Regions from separate parts of the Homo sapiens genome. Here all the other regions are linked to region 3. Evidence: promoter capture Hi-C in 16 types of primary human blood cells and fetal thymus (Javierre and others, 2016). All regions are on one chromosome and are shown on one strand. Each heading gives the region's core, a stretch centred on a gene start or on the middle of the fragment in contact. The rest is flanking DNA. Distances are from core to core; before and after follow the strand shown. Region 1 overlaps PACS2 (phosphofurin acidic cluster sorting protein 2). Region 2 holds the start of BTBD6 (BTB domain containing 6). Region 3 holds the start of PLD4 (phospholipase D family member 4).

Region 1 (4,699 bases), core at 1,397-3,896, 430 kb after region 3:
AGGCCCCCCCCATCACTGTCCCCTGGGGTGACGGGCACCCCCTCATCACTGTCCCCTGGGGAGACGGGCACCCCCATCACTGTCCCCTGGGGTGACGGGCCCCCCCAATCACTGTCCCCTGGGGTGATGGGCACCCCCTCATCACTGTCCCCTGGGGAGACGGGCACCCCCATCGCTGTCCCCTGGGGTGACGGGCCCCCCCATCACTGTCCCCTGGGGTGATGGGCCCCCTCGTCACTGTCCCCTGGGGAGACGGGCGCCCTCATCACTGTCCCCTGGGGTGATGGCCCCCCCTCATCACTGTCCCCTGGGGTGACGGCCCCCCCTCATCACTGTCCCCTGGGGTGATGGGCCCCCTCATCACTGTCCCCTGGGGTGAGAGCATTTGTCTCATCATTGCCATCAGTGTCCTGCGTTACTGCAGATCTTCTGTTGATTATGGTTTATTCTTAAATGATTAGAAGATTTGTATTTGTTTATTAGGTTGAGTTTTTCTTTGTTTTTTCTTTGTTTTTTGTTTGTTTGTTTGTTTTTGAGATGGAGTCTCTCCTTGTCACCCAGGCTGGTGCAGTCTTGGCTCACTGCAACCTCCACCTCCCGAGTTCAAGCGATTCTCCTGCTTCAGCCTCCCGAGCAGCTGGGATTACAGGCATGTGCCACCACGCCCGGCTATTTTTCGTATCTTTAGTTGAGACGGGGTTTCACCATGTCGGCCAGGCTGGTCTCGAACTCCTGACTGCATGATCTGCCTGCCTCGGCCTCTCAAAGTGCTGGGATTACAGGCGTGGGACACCATGCCCAGCCTAGTTTTTCATTCCTTATCTATGATAAAGAGAATATAAGGCCGGGTGTGGTGGCTCATGCCTGTAATCCCAGCACTTCGGGAGGCCGAGGTAGGTGGCAGGAGAATCGCTTGAACCCGGGAGGTGGAGGTTGGTTGCAGTGAGCTGAGATCATGCCATAGCACTCCAGCCTGGGGGACAGAGTGAGACTCCATCTCAAAAAAAAGAGAGAATATAATAACGAGGGCAAAAAAACACTTACTGAGTCAAGGCTATTTTGCTCTTCTATTTAAAAAGATAGGGGAAACTCAGAGTTCACAAGCAATCCCAGCTCTTCGGGAGGCTGAGGCAGGAGGATTGCTTGAACCCAGGAGGTGGAGGTGACAGTGAGCCCGGCTAATTTTTGTATTTTTGTAGAGATGGGGTTTTGCCATGTTGGCTAGGGTGGTCTCGAACTCCCTACCTCAGGTGATCCGCCCAGCTTGGCCTCCCAAAGTGCCGGGATTACAGGTGTGAGCCACCGCGCCTGGCCCAATGCTCCATGGTTCAGTGGGTTTTGATAGGCATGCTCAGGCATGTCAGCACCACCGCAGTTAGGGTGGTGAACAGCCCCATTTTCCCCTAAGTATTTAAACTGATTTTTATTTGTGAACTCTGAGTGTCTAAGAGATACCTGTGAACATCAGCTTGCTGGAGCCCTGCTGGACAGGGAGCCTGTGGTGAGACGTGCAGGCGAGTTGGGTGAACAGGGGGCCTCGGAGGGAGAGCCCTCCCCGCCCTGTGTGCCCCTCGCGGAAAAGCGTCCTGGGTCCCACCTTGCTGATTGCCTCAGGCACATGAGCCGCCACACTGTTTCCGAGTGTCCACAGGCGCGCTCGGCCATCCCGGACACTGCAGCACATAGTCCTTGTCCACCTGCCATGGCTGTTAGCGTGGCGCGGAGCCCTCAGGGCCTGAGCTCTGGCGACTGGCTCACTCTTGATTGTGTTGGGTAAAGGATGGGCTCTGGGGACCGGCATGCCACTGGGATGAACTTGGGGGCCCGTCTGTGGGTGCCCTTCCGATCTCATGGGCAGCAGGTTGGCCTGGTCGCAGGCTGCAGGGTGGCTGGGCCGTCAGAGGCCGTGATGCTGCCTGGGGCCCCGGTGCACCCTCAGCTGCCACTCGCACTTGTGCCCACAGTATCCTCACTTCTTGAAGAGGGAAGGCAACAAGCTTCAGATCATGCTGCAGCGCAGAAAGCGCTACAAGAACAGAACCATCCTGGGCTACAAGACGCTGGCCGCGGGCTCCATCAGCATGGCTGAGGTGAGTGCTCCGTCTGGCGTGGCCTGCGTCGGGCTGGCCACCTGGGTGCCAGAGCATTCGCCCGTGGGAGATGGAGATGTCTCTCCCGGGTCCAGATGTCCAGGGATCAGGTGAAAATGATGAGAGGAGCCTGGGCGGCCGGGCTCCGCCATAAGGGCCAGGTGCGGCCCCAGGTGGTGCTTCCTCTCTGACCTTCCCTTGCCGCCTAGCATGGCTCCCCGCATGCCTGCAGCCGCGCGCACTCCCCTCTAACGAGCCTGTCCTGCCCTTCAGTGGAGGCTGGGTTTTGGGTCAGGCTGCTCTGGAGTCCTTCCCATGGAGGAATCGCTGCTGTCCCCACACCACGGGTGCGTCCTGTGATGGGTTCGTGTCTGCATCCTGCTCAGCACGTGCTCTGGCCCAGGATTGGCTGAGCAGGAGCAGGACAGGTGTCAGTTCTGTGAAGGGGCTAGCGACAATACCCGAGCAGGGCGGGGGCAGCACCCAGAGGTCAGAGGGGTGGCTGGAGTTCCCTGGAGGGGAAAGAAGGGGAAGTACCTCAAAAGGAAAAGAAACAGCCAAGCAGCAGCCCACCTTGCTCCAGAGAACCCAGCGTTCCAAGGAGGCTGCAGTAGGGCGTGGGGGCCTGGGAGAAGACACCCCAGGCTGAGGCCTCGGACTTTCTCATGGACCCTTTCGGGGCTGCAAGATTGGCTCTGGGAGAAGGGGCAGCCCAGGGCCCCAGACCAGTTTGTCTCTTTTGCTTCAGAACTTTCCCCATCGTGGGGTTGTGTTCAGGGGTCCAGGGGCTGCGGGCGTGAGTGGTGCTTGGGGCATGTGAAGCTGGGTTGCTGCCTGCCTGGGGCCTGGGAAGGTCAGCCAGCGCAGCCCCTCATTGGGAGCCGGAGATGCCAGAGCCCCCCAGCCCCTCTTCTTCCCACTTTGTCCCCCTGCTCCTGGGGCTTGGGGCTGGGACAGTGGGGGTGCCCACTTGTAGCTGGTTCCCCCACACCCCCAGGCCCAGCCTGCAGGCCTCCTGTCTCCCAGGTCAAGCGCTAGGTCCCCCAGATCCTCACACACCCCCACTTACGCATCCAGGACAAGTGCCAAGTACTACTCTGGGCTCAGCCCTCCCTGCTACCCCAGGAGATGGGAGCGTGGAGGGTACAGGAAGCAGCAGTGGCGTCCCGAGGCCTCGCTTCTCCGTGCCGCCGCAGGGCCTCAGACAAGCTTTGCAGTCTTCCCGATTCCTTCGGCAAACCACGGACAGCACGGGTGGACCGGGCCTCCAGGCTGCACTTCCCAGGGCCCTGGGACCCCTCTGGTGGCCTGGAGCTGCCCATCATCCCAGCCTCCCTCCTGCAGGCTGAGCGATGGGTGAACAGGTAGCTCAGGGATGCTCTCTGGGCTGTGAGAGCCTCCTGGGAGCCACCGCTTGCTTCCTGTGGAGCAGGAGGGTCCAGGCACTGTGGGGAGGTCATGCAGGCTCTGTTTCCCATTAGCCATGCAGGCGAGGTCCTGCTGATCCCTGCCGGTCCCTGTGTTTCCCATTAGCCATGCAGGCGAGGTCCTGCTGATCCCTGCCGGTCCCTGTGTTTCCCATTAGCCATGCAGGCGAGGTCCTGCTGATCCCTGCCGGTCCCTGTGTTTCCCATTAGCCATGCAGGCGATGTCCTGCTGATCCCTGCCGGTCCCTGTGTTTCCCATTAGCCATTCAGGCGATGTCCTGCTGATCCCTGCTGGTCCCTGTGTTTCCCATTAGCCATGCAGGCGATGTCCTGCTGATCCCTGCCGGTCCCTGTGTTTCCCATTAGCCATGCAGGCGATGTCCTGCTGATCCCTGCTGGTCCCTGTGTAGCCATGCAGGTGATGTCCTGCTGATCCCTGCCGGTCCCTGTGAGCTCCTGCCCCAGGCTGCTCCGCCCACATCTCTCAGTCTGCACCCCAGTGCCCCAGGCGGCTCCTCCCAGCCCCTCTCAGCACTGGTGCTTCTGTGTTTGACGTCCTTGCCCTGAATGCTGGCCTCTGCTCCCAGGCCCCTCCCTCACCTGTCCTCCCAGCCTTGGGCTGTCCCCTCCTGATCCCCGGGGAGAGGCTGGAGCAACCTTCCCCCACCCCAGGTCACACCAGCCACATCGTCTGCTGCTTGAAATCCCATCATCTGTTCTTCACTCTTGGCAGAAAAGCCCCACCCCTGGATGTAGTTCCAGTGCCCTGCCCCTGAGCCTGTGGCCCCCACCCCAAGGCTCCCTCGCCCTGCACCTGTGGCTTCCAAAGCCGAGGTCATCTGACTGCTCCTCGCTCTCCCCTCCAGCATCTCCTCCAGGCCCTCGGGGCATCCTTCCACCTTCCACTGGCAGCCTGGTCCCAGAACCTAGTTGGGTCCTCCCATGTGTCCCCGAGCACCAGGGCGGTTCATGGGCTCCCTGTGTCCTGCCACCTTTTGGGGCTGGTTCCCACCTGTGAGCGTTGCTGGCTTGTTGAGAGTATGAGCACGGGAGATTGCGGAGGCGGGACAGCCCCGAGGGCACAGACGGACACAGGTGGCAGAGGTGGGGGGCTCTCACCAGCTGGGCTCAGGCAGCTGTGCCATGGGGGCTTGCTGGCTCCGAGACTGCACGCCTGAGACG
Region 2 (4,625 bases), core at 901-3,400, 320 kb after region 3:
CAAAAAAGAATAGGCTGGGCGCGGTGGCTCACACCTGTAATCCCAGCACTTTGGGAGGCCTAGGCAGGTAGATCACTTGAGGCCAGGAGTTTAAGACCAGCCTGGTCAACGGAGTCTCGCTCTGTCATCCAGGCTGGAGTGCAGTAGCATGATCTCAGCTCACTGCAACCTCCGCCTCCCTGGTTCGAGCCATTCTCCTTCCTTGGCCTCCCGAATAGCTGGGATTACAGGTGCCCGTTAATTTTTGTATTTTTAGTAGAGATGGGGTTTCACCATGTTGGCCAGGCTGGTCTCAAACTCCTGACCTCAAGTGATCCGCCCACCTTGGCCTCCCAAAGTGCTGGGATTACAGGCGTGAGCCACCGCGCCCAACCTACACTGTAACATATTTAAAAATCAAAGTGCAAAGGGTGGTTTCTTTCTAAGGATGAAAATTATTATTCACATGCTCCACACCACCATGCAGATCAAGACGCTGACTACCTCTGGCGGCTCAGCAATTCTATCCTGGCACCCCCGGAGACAGCTGTCGCCCAGGTCTTGTGTGCTGCTGTAAGTTATTCCTTCTCACTGCATTCCCCAAATGGACCCACCACAACCTGCTGATCCTTTCTGTTGCTGATGGACATGTAGGCTGTCTCCACTCTGGCCATTTGTATTTCTCCTGGAAACTGCTTATGCCCGTTACCTTTTTCTATGGAAACAGACGGCTGGGACAGAAACCACGGCCACAGCAGCCAGCGTGTCTTTGCCAGTGGGGTCCCACACTATGAAATCGCAGCTGTGGCCTCGGTGGGTGTGTCCTTGGCGGGTGCATCCACACACTTTCTCTCGGAACTTTCCGGACTCTCATGCATATGCTACAGCTTTCCAAACGGCTTGGCCGTGCGGAGTTACGCACCCACCTGCAGCAGGTGATCTCCAGCTGCTCTGCATTCCACCAACACTACGTGACAAGTCTCAAGTTCAGCCGCCTGGGGGCTCGGGCACCCCATTCCTGGGAGAAATGATGATTTGTGCACTCTGGGCCATTGCATGGTGTCTGTTCACGTCCTTTGCCCGTTTTTTAAAAAACTGGGTTGTCAGCCTTTTCCTTCCTGACTTGTAGTTGCTCCTCCATCCTGGAGAGTCCTTTGTTGAAAATACCGCAAATATCTTCTGAAGAGGACTCTCCCAGGGAACATTCACTACAACTGTAACGACCACAGAGACACAGAGCTCCTGTTCACTGTTTAGCCCAGGACTGCGGTGACAGGTGCACCCATGACCCGAGATGCTGGCTGCGTCCTGTGGGGTTTCCTGCATATGGAAGTTTTAAAAGTCTAAAGCCTGGCGGTCCAGGAGGTTGCGTGTGTGTCCTCGGGGAGGAACCCTCCTGACAGCCAGGCCTCTGGAGCTTCGTCTGCACGCGAGCTTGGCATGCACCAGCTGTGCGGCCCAGGCCAGGTGACACGGCCTCTGAAGTCTGGTCTCCTCATCAGCAAAGCCAGTGCCCCATGCCACGCACCTCCCAGGATTAGCCCCAGGCCGGGAGGCTAGAGGCCCCACAAGGAGCGAGCCTGCGACTGCGATCCACAGGCAGAGCCACAGAGGCAGGGCGCGCCCTGGGGCCCAAGCTCCAGGGCTGCAGGCCCAGGGCCAGATCCTGACTTGCCCACCCGCCGGCTGTGTGACCTTCAGCGCGCGACTAACCTCTCTGTGCCTATTTCCTCGAGGAAAATGCCGGGAAATAGCAGCGCCTGCCCCTGTAAAGCCCTCAGAGCAGAGTGGACCGCGCTCTCTGCAAGCGCTGGCTGCTGGCGTCCGTAGCAAGCTAAATCGCGAAGCATCTGAACGAACGAGGAAGCCCAACGACCATCCCACAGGCCGCGGCCAGAGGCAGACTCCGGAATGCAAATGGCCAAACAAGCAGGTCCACCTGCGTTCCTAACCAAAAGATCGCTAACTGAAGAACGGGCGCAAGCACCTGCGCATGGCACTGCGGGTCTGGGGGCGGCCGCCTGCCAGCGCCGGGAGCCGCCTTCCACGGCTACCTCTGCACAGCGCGCGGCTCGCGCCGGTTGCTGGGCAGAAGCTCGAGCAGCTTCGAGGATGTCGGGCCTGGGGGCGGGGCCGCGAGGCAGCGACGTCGCGCGGGGCGCGGCCCTGACGCAGCGTGACGCACCGGCGCCGCGGCGGGTACGGGCTCGGGCGGGCGGGCGGGCGGGACGGCGCCCCCCGCGGCCGGGCCTGGCCGGGCTGCGCTAGGCTGGGCTCGGGCAGGGTCGCAGGGGCGGGGGTGGCAGGGGAGCGGGTGGCAGCCCCGCGGGTCACAGCGCCGCCGCCGCCCATGCTGCTGCCCCTAGCCTGCCTGCACGGCCGCGTCGCTCAGTGCCTGACCTCCTTGCTTTTGCTTGCAGAGCCGCTCCCGAGGCCCCGGCGCGGCGCGAGGGCGCGGGGCGCGGCGTCCACAGGCGCCGAGGCTGCCCCCGCCGCCCCGCCCGCGAAGATGGCGGCGGAACTCTACGCTCCCGCCAGCGCCGCGGCCGCGGACCTAGCCAACAGCAACGCCGGCGCCGCCGTGGGCAGGAAGGCCGGGCCGCGCAGCCCGCCCAGCGCCCCCGCGCCAGCGCCGCCGCCGCCCGCGCCCGCGCCGCCCACACTCGGCAACAACCACCAGGAGAGCCCCGGCTGGCGGTGCTGCCGCCCCACGCTGCGCGAGAGGTGAGCCCGTGCCCCGCGGCCCCCGCGCCCGCGCGCGCCCACGCCCCCAGCCCGTGCCTCTACCTTTGCAGGAACGCGCTCATGTTCAACAACGAGCTCATGGCCGACGTGCACTTCGTCGTGGGGCCCCCGGGGGCGACCAGGACGGTGCCCGCCCACAAGGTGGGTAGCGGCGGCCCCTCTCGGAACGCGTGCCCCGTCCGCCCCGTCCGCCGTGTGGCTGACACGCAGCCTGCGGGAGAGCCAGGCTCACGGCGGCGCTTTCTCCTCCCAGTACGTCTTGGCTGTCGGCAGCTCCGTCTTCTATGCCATGTTCTACGGAGACCTGGCGGAAGTCAAATCTGAAATTCACATTCCAGACGTGGAGCCCGCAGCCTTTCTGATCCTCTTAAAGTAAGTCCACTCTACTGGGGAGGGACGGGTGGGTCCGTTTTAGGCGGCCTCCGGAGGCTTCTGAAGGGAAGCACACAGGAGCTGATGGACTCCTCTCCCAGGCCCAGCCCCGCGATGGGTGCTTGGGAGCCAGCCCCTGACGCGGGCCCTGCCTCGCCTAGGTACATGTACAGTGATGAGATCGATCTGGAAGCCGACACGGTGCTGGCCACTCTGTACGCTGCTAAGAAGTACATCGTCCCAGCATTGGCAAAAGCCTGTGTCAACTTTCTGGAGACAAGTTTGGAAGCCAAGAACGCCTGCGTCCTGCTGTCCCAGAGCCGGCTGTTTGAGGAGCCCGAGCTGACGCAGCGCTGCTGGGAGGTCATTGACGCACAGGCCGAGATGGCCCTACGGTCCGAAGGCTTCTGTGAGATAGACCGGCAGACGCTGGAGATCATTGTCACTCGGGAGGCCCTCAACACCAAAGAGGCGGTGGTCTTCGAGGCCGTCCTGAACTGGGCCGAGGCGGAGTGCAAGAGGCAGGGGCTGCCAATCACCCCACGAAACAAGAGGCATGTTCTGGGGCGAGCCCTCTATCTGGTCCGAATTCCAACCATGACCCTAGAGGAGTTTGCCAACGGCGCTGCCCAGTCAGACATCCTGACTCTGGAGGAGACCCACAGCATCTTCCTGTGGTACACGGCCACCAACAAGCCCCGCCTGGACTTTCCCCTGACCAAGAGGAAGGGCCTCGCCCCGCAGAGGTGCCACCGATTCCAGTCTTCTGCCTACCGCAGCAACCAGTGGCGGTACCGCGGGCGCTGCGACAGCATCCAGTTTGCAGTGGACAGAAGGGTATTTATTGCAGGGCTGGGCCTGTATGGCTCCAGCTCTGGGAAGGCTGAGTACAGCGTGAAGATTGAGCTCAAGCGGCTCGGGGTGGTTCTGGCTCAGAACTTGACCAAGTTCATGTCAGACGGATCCAGTAACACCTTCCCGGTCTGGTTTGAACACCCGGTCCAGGTTGAACAAGACACCTTCTACACGGCCAGTGCCGTCCTGGACGGCAGCGAACTCAGCTACTTTGGGCAGGAGGGGATGACGGAAGTGCAGTGTGGAAAGGTGGCCTTCCAGTTCCAGTGCTCCTCGGACAGCACCAACGGGACTGGGGTCCAGGGTGGGCAGATCCCTGAGCTCATTTTCTATGCCTGAGGTGCCCGGGGAGGCTGCAGCAGGTCAGCGAGTGAGTGGAGGGGAAGTCAAGATGCTAACTGCTTCTTGACACCATGAAAGGCTGCTCTTAACTTTGTCTCTCTTTGACATGTAGTCAGCTGAAGCTTGACTGTGTAGAGACATTTTCCACACAGCCAGAACCCAGGGATTGGAGTCTTAGGCATCTCTGGTACAGTGGGGTGCACGTCTCAGGTGGAGGAAGATTTACGGCTCAAGACAGGCCCCAGATCCCCTCCCAGTGGCACCCATGCCACCTGCTTTGAGGGGTTGGATCTTCCTGCTACCCTCTTGGATTCTAAGTGGTTCCAAGCTTA
Region 3 (4,361 bases), core at 798-3,297:
TCGTTCCTGGCCACACAGCCAGCCTCGGAGCCACTGAGAGGCCTGCCCTGGGTCCCGAATCTAGACGCCCCTTCCAGCCTCAATCTTTCTTCCAGGGTAAGCAGCCTGAGAGGCCAAGAGGACAGTCCACCGAACCCTGAGCCCAAGGCCCAGGATTCCTTGCTTAAACATCCCCAAGCCTGGATCCATCCTCCCGAGGTAGAGCTGCCTGAGCTGTACCCAGTCCTGCTGGCCTGAGGGGCAGCCAGGGGAGGTGACGTGGTGCTTTTCTGGGGCTGCAATGAGCTCAGACCCACGGGCTGGGTGTAGCATGTGGGCTCATTGAGGCCCCTCACAATGTGGGGAAATCGGAGAGGGGACTGGCTGGGGCTGGCCCTCCTGCAAGGACTTCTGAGAGTGCTCCAAGGAGCCCTGGGGTCCTCCACTTGCCCCTGGCCTTCCAGGCCCTCACACACCATTGTTGTCCAGACAGAAGAGACTGGGCGCTGTGGTTCACGCCTGTAATCCCAGCACTTTGGGAGGCCGAGGCGGGTGGATCATCTGAGTTCAGGAGTTCGAGACCAGCCTGGCCAACATGGTGAAACCCCGTCTCTAATAAAAAATACAAAAATTAGCCGGGCGTGGTGGCACGTGCCTTAATCCCAGCTACTTGGGAGACAGAGGCAGGAGAATCGTATGAACTCGGGAGGCAGAAGTTGCAGTGAGCCGAGATAAAGCCGTTGCACTCAAACCTGGGGTACAAGAGCGAGACTTCTCTCAAAGGAAAAAGAAAAAAAAAAAGACAGAAGAGAACCTGTTCTGTCTAACTGCCTTTTGCTTGAGTGCAGGGAAGGCAGCCTCCCTTCATACTCATGCCCCAGCCCTGCAAATGTCACAGCAGGACCCACCTGGCTGCCCCTCCCCATACCCAGAGTAACCCTCACCCAGAGTCCCTGGAGGACCCAACCCTCGGGGGCATGCCTGGGGCCCAGCTGCATTCAGGCATCCAGCAACCCAGCCAGAGGGCTGGGGCTCCCCAACCATGGCCGGGAGGTAAGGGCTGAACCCAAGGCCAAATCAGAGCATCAGGAAGGTGAAGAGAGATCTGGGAGGGGCTAGGGAGAGGATGGATCTCTTCCCCATTCACTTCCTGGCCCACCCAGACTGGCCCCAGGGGTGCAGCTGACAGGCCCCACCCTTGGGAACTGCACCCTCCTGACTGGTGTCCTGCAGGCACCCTGAGGCCATCACCCTGGACCCCTGCCCTACATAGGCCTTACAAGGAGGAGCCAGGGTGGACACCCAGACCTCATTGAAAGTAGGAGTGTTCTCAAGGTCCCAGACCTTACTCAGGGACCCCAGTCGGGGGGTGGGGCAGTGGGAGGCAGAGCCCCTTGCTAGGAGCTTCTAGCCAGGCCCACCTTTTCAGATATGCCAGTGAGCAGCCCCAGCTTCGTTCTCCAAGATAAAGACCCTAGTTACCTCCATTGCTCAGCCTCCCTTGCAGCTAAGTGTAGCCATGTGACTAAGTTCTAGATCAAGTTCCAGATCACAGATAAGTGGAAGTGCCCTGTGGGACTTCCAGGAAGTCTCCTCTGGGATGTCCCTTATTCTCTGCTAAGAACACAGAGGCAATGGCTGAGTTCCAGCAGCCACTGTGAGGCCATGAAGGCAGGGATCCTAGGGACTGGGATCTGAGAGCCTGGCTCCCAATGGCAGTGGAGCAATGCCATCATCTCTAGCAAGGCCGTCTCTAGCCTGCCAGCCCCTGGACCTGCTTAGTGTTCGAGAGTAATGAACAACCTTGCTGAAGCCACTGTTCCTTAGGTGTCTGTGGCCTGCAGCTGAACTTGACTCCGATTCGTAGGCCCGCAACTGGAGGGCCTCTACCTCGAGGGAGTGGGGTGTAGATTTTTCCTGGAGGTGAAGGTTCTCAGCCCTACCCTCTAGCCCGCCCACCCAGCTCCAGCCGTCTGTTTCTGTCTCAGATGAGAGGGGGCCTCTCAGGACAAAGAGGAAGTAGCTGGAAGGGGAAGGAGCCAGCTGCAGAGAGGAGGAGGTGAGCTGCAGAGAAGAGGAGGTTGGTGTGGAGCACAGGCAGCACCGAGCCTGCCCCGTGAGCTGAGGGCCTGCAGTCTGCGGCTGGAATCAGGATAGACACCAAGGCAGGACCCCCAGAGGTATGTGCCAATGAGGCCAGGGCAGCTGAGAAAAGCCAGGCATGGGGAAAGGGCTGCTGTCTGCCTCCCTATGGCCTCAGCCTCCCAGCAACCCCAGGTCCAGAGAGTCACACAGCCTCCAGCTAGTCCTGTAGATGACTCGCTCCGTCCCCAGTCCGTGCAGCTGGGATAAGCTGGGCCCTGGCTCTCCAGCCAGGTGACAGCTGGGCCCTCTACCTCAGCCTGGGACTGGCAGCCATGCCTAATGCCCTGCAGGGCAGGAAATCTGGCACCTTCAGCCATGACCTCTGATGTCTGCAGGGTCTTACGCTATCTACCATGGGACCAGGGGGCTACAGCCCTACTCTGCAGGGGTCTCTCAGCTTGAGCCAACCTGGCTGGCGGTCCTCCCAGGTTCCATTGCAGGAGGAGGTGGTGAGGCGCTCTGGGGTCTGTAGTCCTGGGAGGGGACTTGGACAGGCTCCAAGTCTGAGATGGGGCCTGCAAGAGGCAGCGCCTCTGTGCTCTGAGCTGCCCGTCTGCCTGGAGCATTTAAGGGAGCAAAGGTCCTCTCTGGTGAGGGCAGGGAGTGTGGGGAGCAGCTGTCCAAGAACAGCCCTGGCACCTCGTTGCCCAGCCACAGCCCAGGATTCCATGTTTCCTCTCATTGACCAGCCACAGCCCAGGATTCCATGTTTCCTCTTCTGAGAGTTAGTGGGGGAGAGCAAAGGCCCGATGCTGGGCCCTGAATCCCTGGGGACAGTGGGGACACGGTGGGCACCCTGAGGTCTCCTCTGTGGGGTGGGGGGAGCATCCCCCAGAGTTCAGCTCTGGGGTGGGGGCGGCACCCACCCACCTCTGCAGGACCCCCCAGCGTGGGGGGAGTTGGGCCGCAGTGACTTGGCCTGAGTCCCCTGTCCCCACACTTGGTTTATGCTCCTACCCCCAATCCCCCATAACGCTTGGTCTCCAGGGCAGACTCAGTCCAGGCCCGACTCCTGTGGTGTTCCTGGCATTTCCGCCCCATGCTGAGGCAGGCCAGGTTCTCAAAGCCCTCAGCCCTGACCCGTGGGAGGACAGCCCAGACGAACCCCAGAGGCCTGGAGGCTGAGCTGGCTGCTCCTGGGTGGACAGCCGACCCACCGAGCCCTGGGTCCCAGCGCCCAGCCTGGCTGCAGACACTGGCACTCAGCACTGCCCAGGCCCAGGCCCCAAACCTCGGAGACATCCCCATCCCAGCCAGGGGCCAGCCAGCTCCTGCCCTGGTGGATGTCTCAGTCAGAGGCTGGCCAGCCAGGTGACCATGCTGGGCACAGACCCCTCCCTGCACCCGGGGAGGGCGCCTCTGTACTTGTGAGGCACCCTTCCCCCATGGTGGCACCTGGGGCAGCCTGACTGCTTGCTTTGGGGGTAGGAGTGGGGATGGGAGCCCACATCCCACAGGGCCCAGATGGCCTGGCTCCCAGCTCCTTGTGGGGTGACCACTCTGAGGAGATAAGGCGAGTCCCTGCAGCAGAGGACAACCCCCTCTGCCAGCAGTAGGGGTCCCACTCTGCCGCCATCTCTGCCCTCTCCACGCCTAGCCTCTCCAGCAAGGGTACTGCTCAGCTGCCCCCTCTGACCTGTGGCTCTCTGGAGGGGCTGCCGTGGGGCCAAGACAGGAGCCCAGCCCAGGAGGGAAGCAGTTATTTATAGGCCAGCAATAAGAGGACCAAGCGACAAAAGCAGAAACAGCCCTTTCAGACGCAGTTTCAGTTGTGGTTGAAACAGGGAACTGAGATGCAAATACCTAGATACTCACTGAGTGGGAGACCCTGAAAGGGGAGACACAGAAAGCCGGGGCATGTGGCTAGGCACAGACGCCCGCCCGCCCCTCGTGCTTGGCCCAGGCTCAGCCCTGGGGACCGCCTTAACAGCAGTCCTTCCGGCTTGGCCAGGGGGACAGGACAGGTGACATGTGGCCGGCTGCGGGCTCCAACACCCACACGGCTTGTCCTCGTGGAAAGCACACCCCCAACATCCAGGGCGTGACCTCGGGCATGAGTGGGGGGCTTTTGGGGGCTTATGTGGGTGTCTGTGCAGGGGTGTCCCCAGTGCCCAGCTGCCCAGGCACTGAGGGGCAGTTCTGGGCAGAGCTGGAGCTGCTGGTGATGCCAGGCTGCCCTGTGCAGATGCTGAAGCCTCTTTGGAAAGCAGCAGTGGCCCCCACATGGCCATGCTCCA

Evidence for each region. Contacts are between HindIII fragments. The CHiCAGO score rates a contact against its expected background, and 5 or more counts as called.
Region 1: a contact is called between a fragment that was not itself captured here and the fragment with the promoter of PLD4 in region 3, in 1 of 17 cell types (total CD4 T cells). The highest score is 5.9, in total CD4 T cells.
Region 2: a contact is called between the fragment with the promoter of BTBD6 here and the fragment with the promoter of PLD4 in region 3, in 9 of 17 cell types (M1 macrophages, erythroblasts, monocytes and 6 more). The highest score is 7.4, in M1 macrophages.

What each region holds. Positions count from the first base shown.
Region 1 is chr14:105,353,088-105,357,786 of GRCh38, forward strand. It overlaps PACS2 (phosphofurin acidic cluster sorting protein 2), which reads left to right. Exons shown (of 25, transcript NM_001100913.3): 4 at 1,965-2,090. Among named protein-coding and RNA genes, the nearest start is that of PACS2, 41 kb to the left of the region's middle. RefSeq lists an enhancer at 1-165. The HindIII fragment of the contact is 1,302 bases long and covers 1,996-3,297 here.
Region 2 is chr14:105,246,383-105,251,007 of GRCh38, forward strand. BTBD6 (BTB domain containing 6) reads left to right here and starts at 2,151. Exons shown (of 4, transcript NM_001387567.1): 1 at 2,151-2,703; 2 at 2,775-2,865; 3 at 2,978-3,096; 4 at 3,258-4,625. The coding sequence starts at 2,330. The coding sequence ends at 4,290. The region is part of intron 5 of BRF1 (BRF1 general transcription factor IIIB subunit); the gene reads right to left. RefSeq lists enhancers at 1,777-2,567, 3,359-4,148 and silencers at 1,943-2,502, 2,703-2,752. The HindIII fragment of the contact is 26,340 bases long and covers 1-4,413 here.
Region 3 is chr14:104,922,832-104,927,192 of GRCh38, forward strand. It overlaps PLD4 (phospholipase D family member 4), which reads left to right and starts at 2,048. Exons shown (of 11, transcript NM_138790.5): 1 at 2,048-2,159; 2 at 4,310-4,361. The coding sequence starts at 4,310. RefSeq lists enhancers at 2,221-2,390, 2,373-2,882. The HindIII fragment of the contact is 16,221 bases long and covers 1-4,361 here.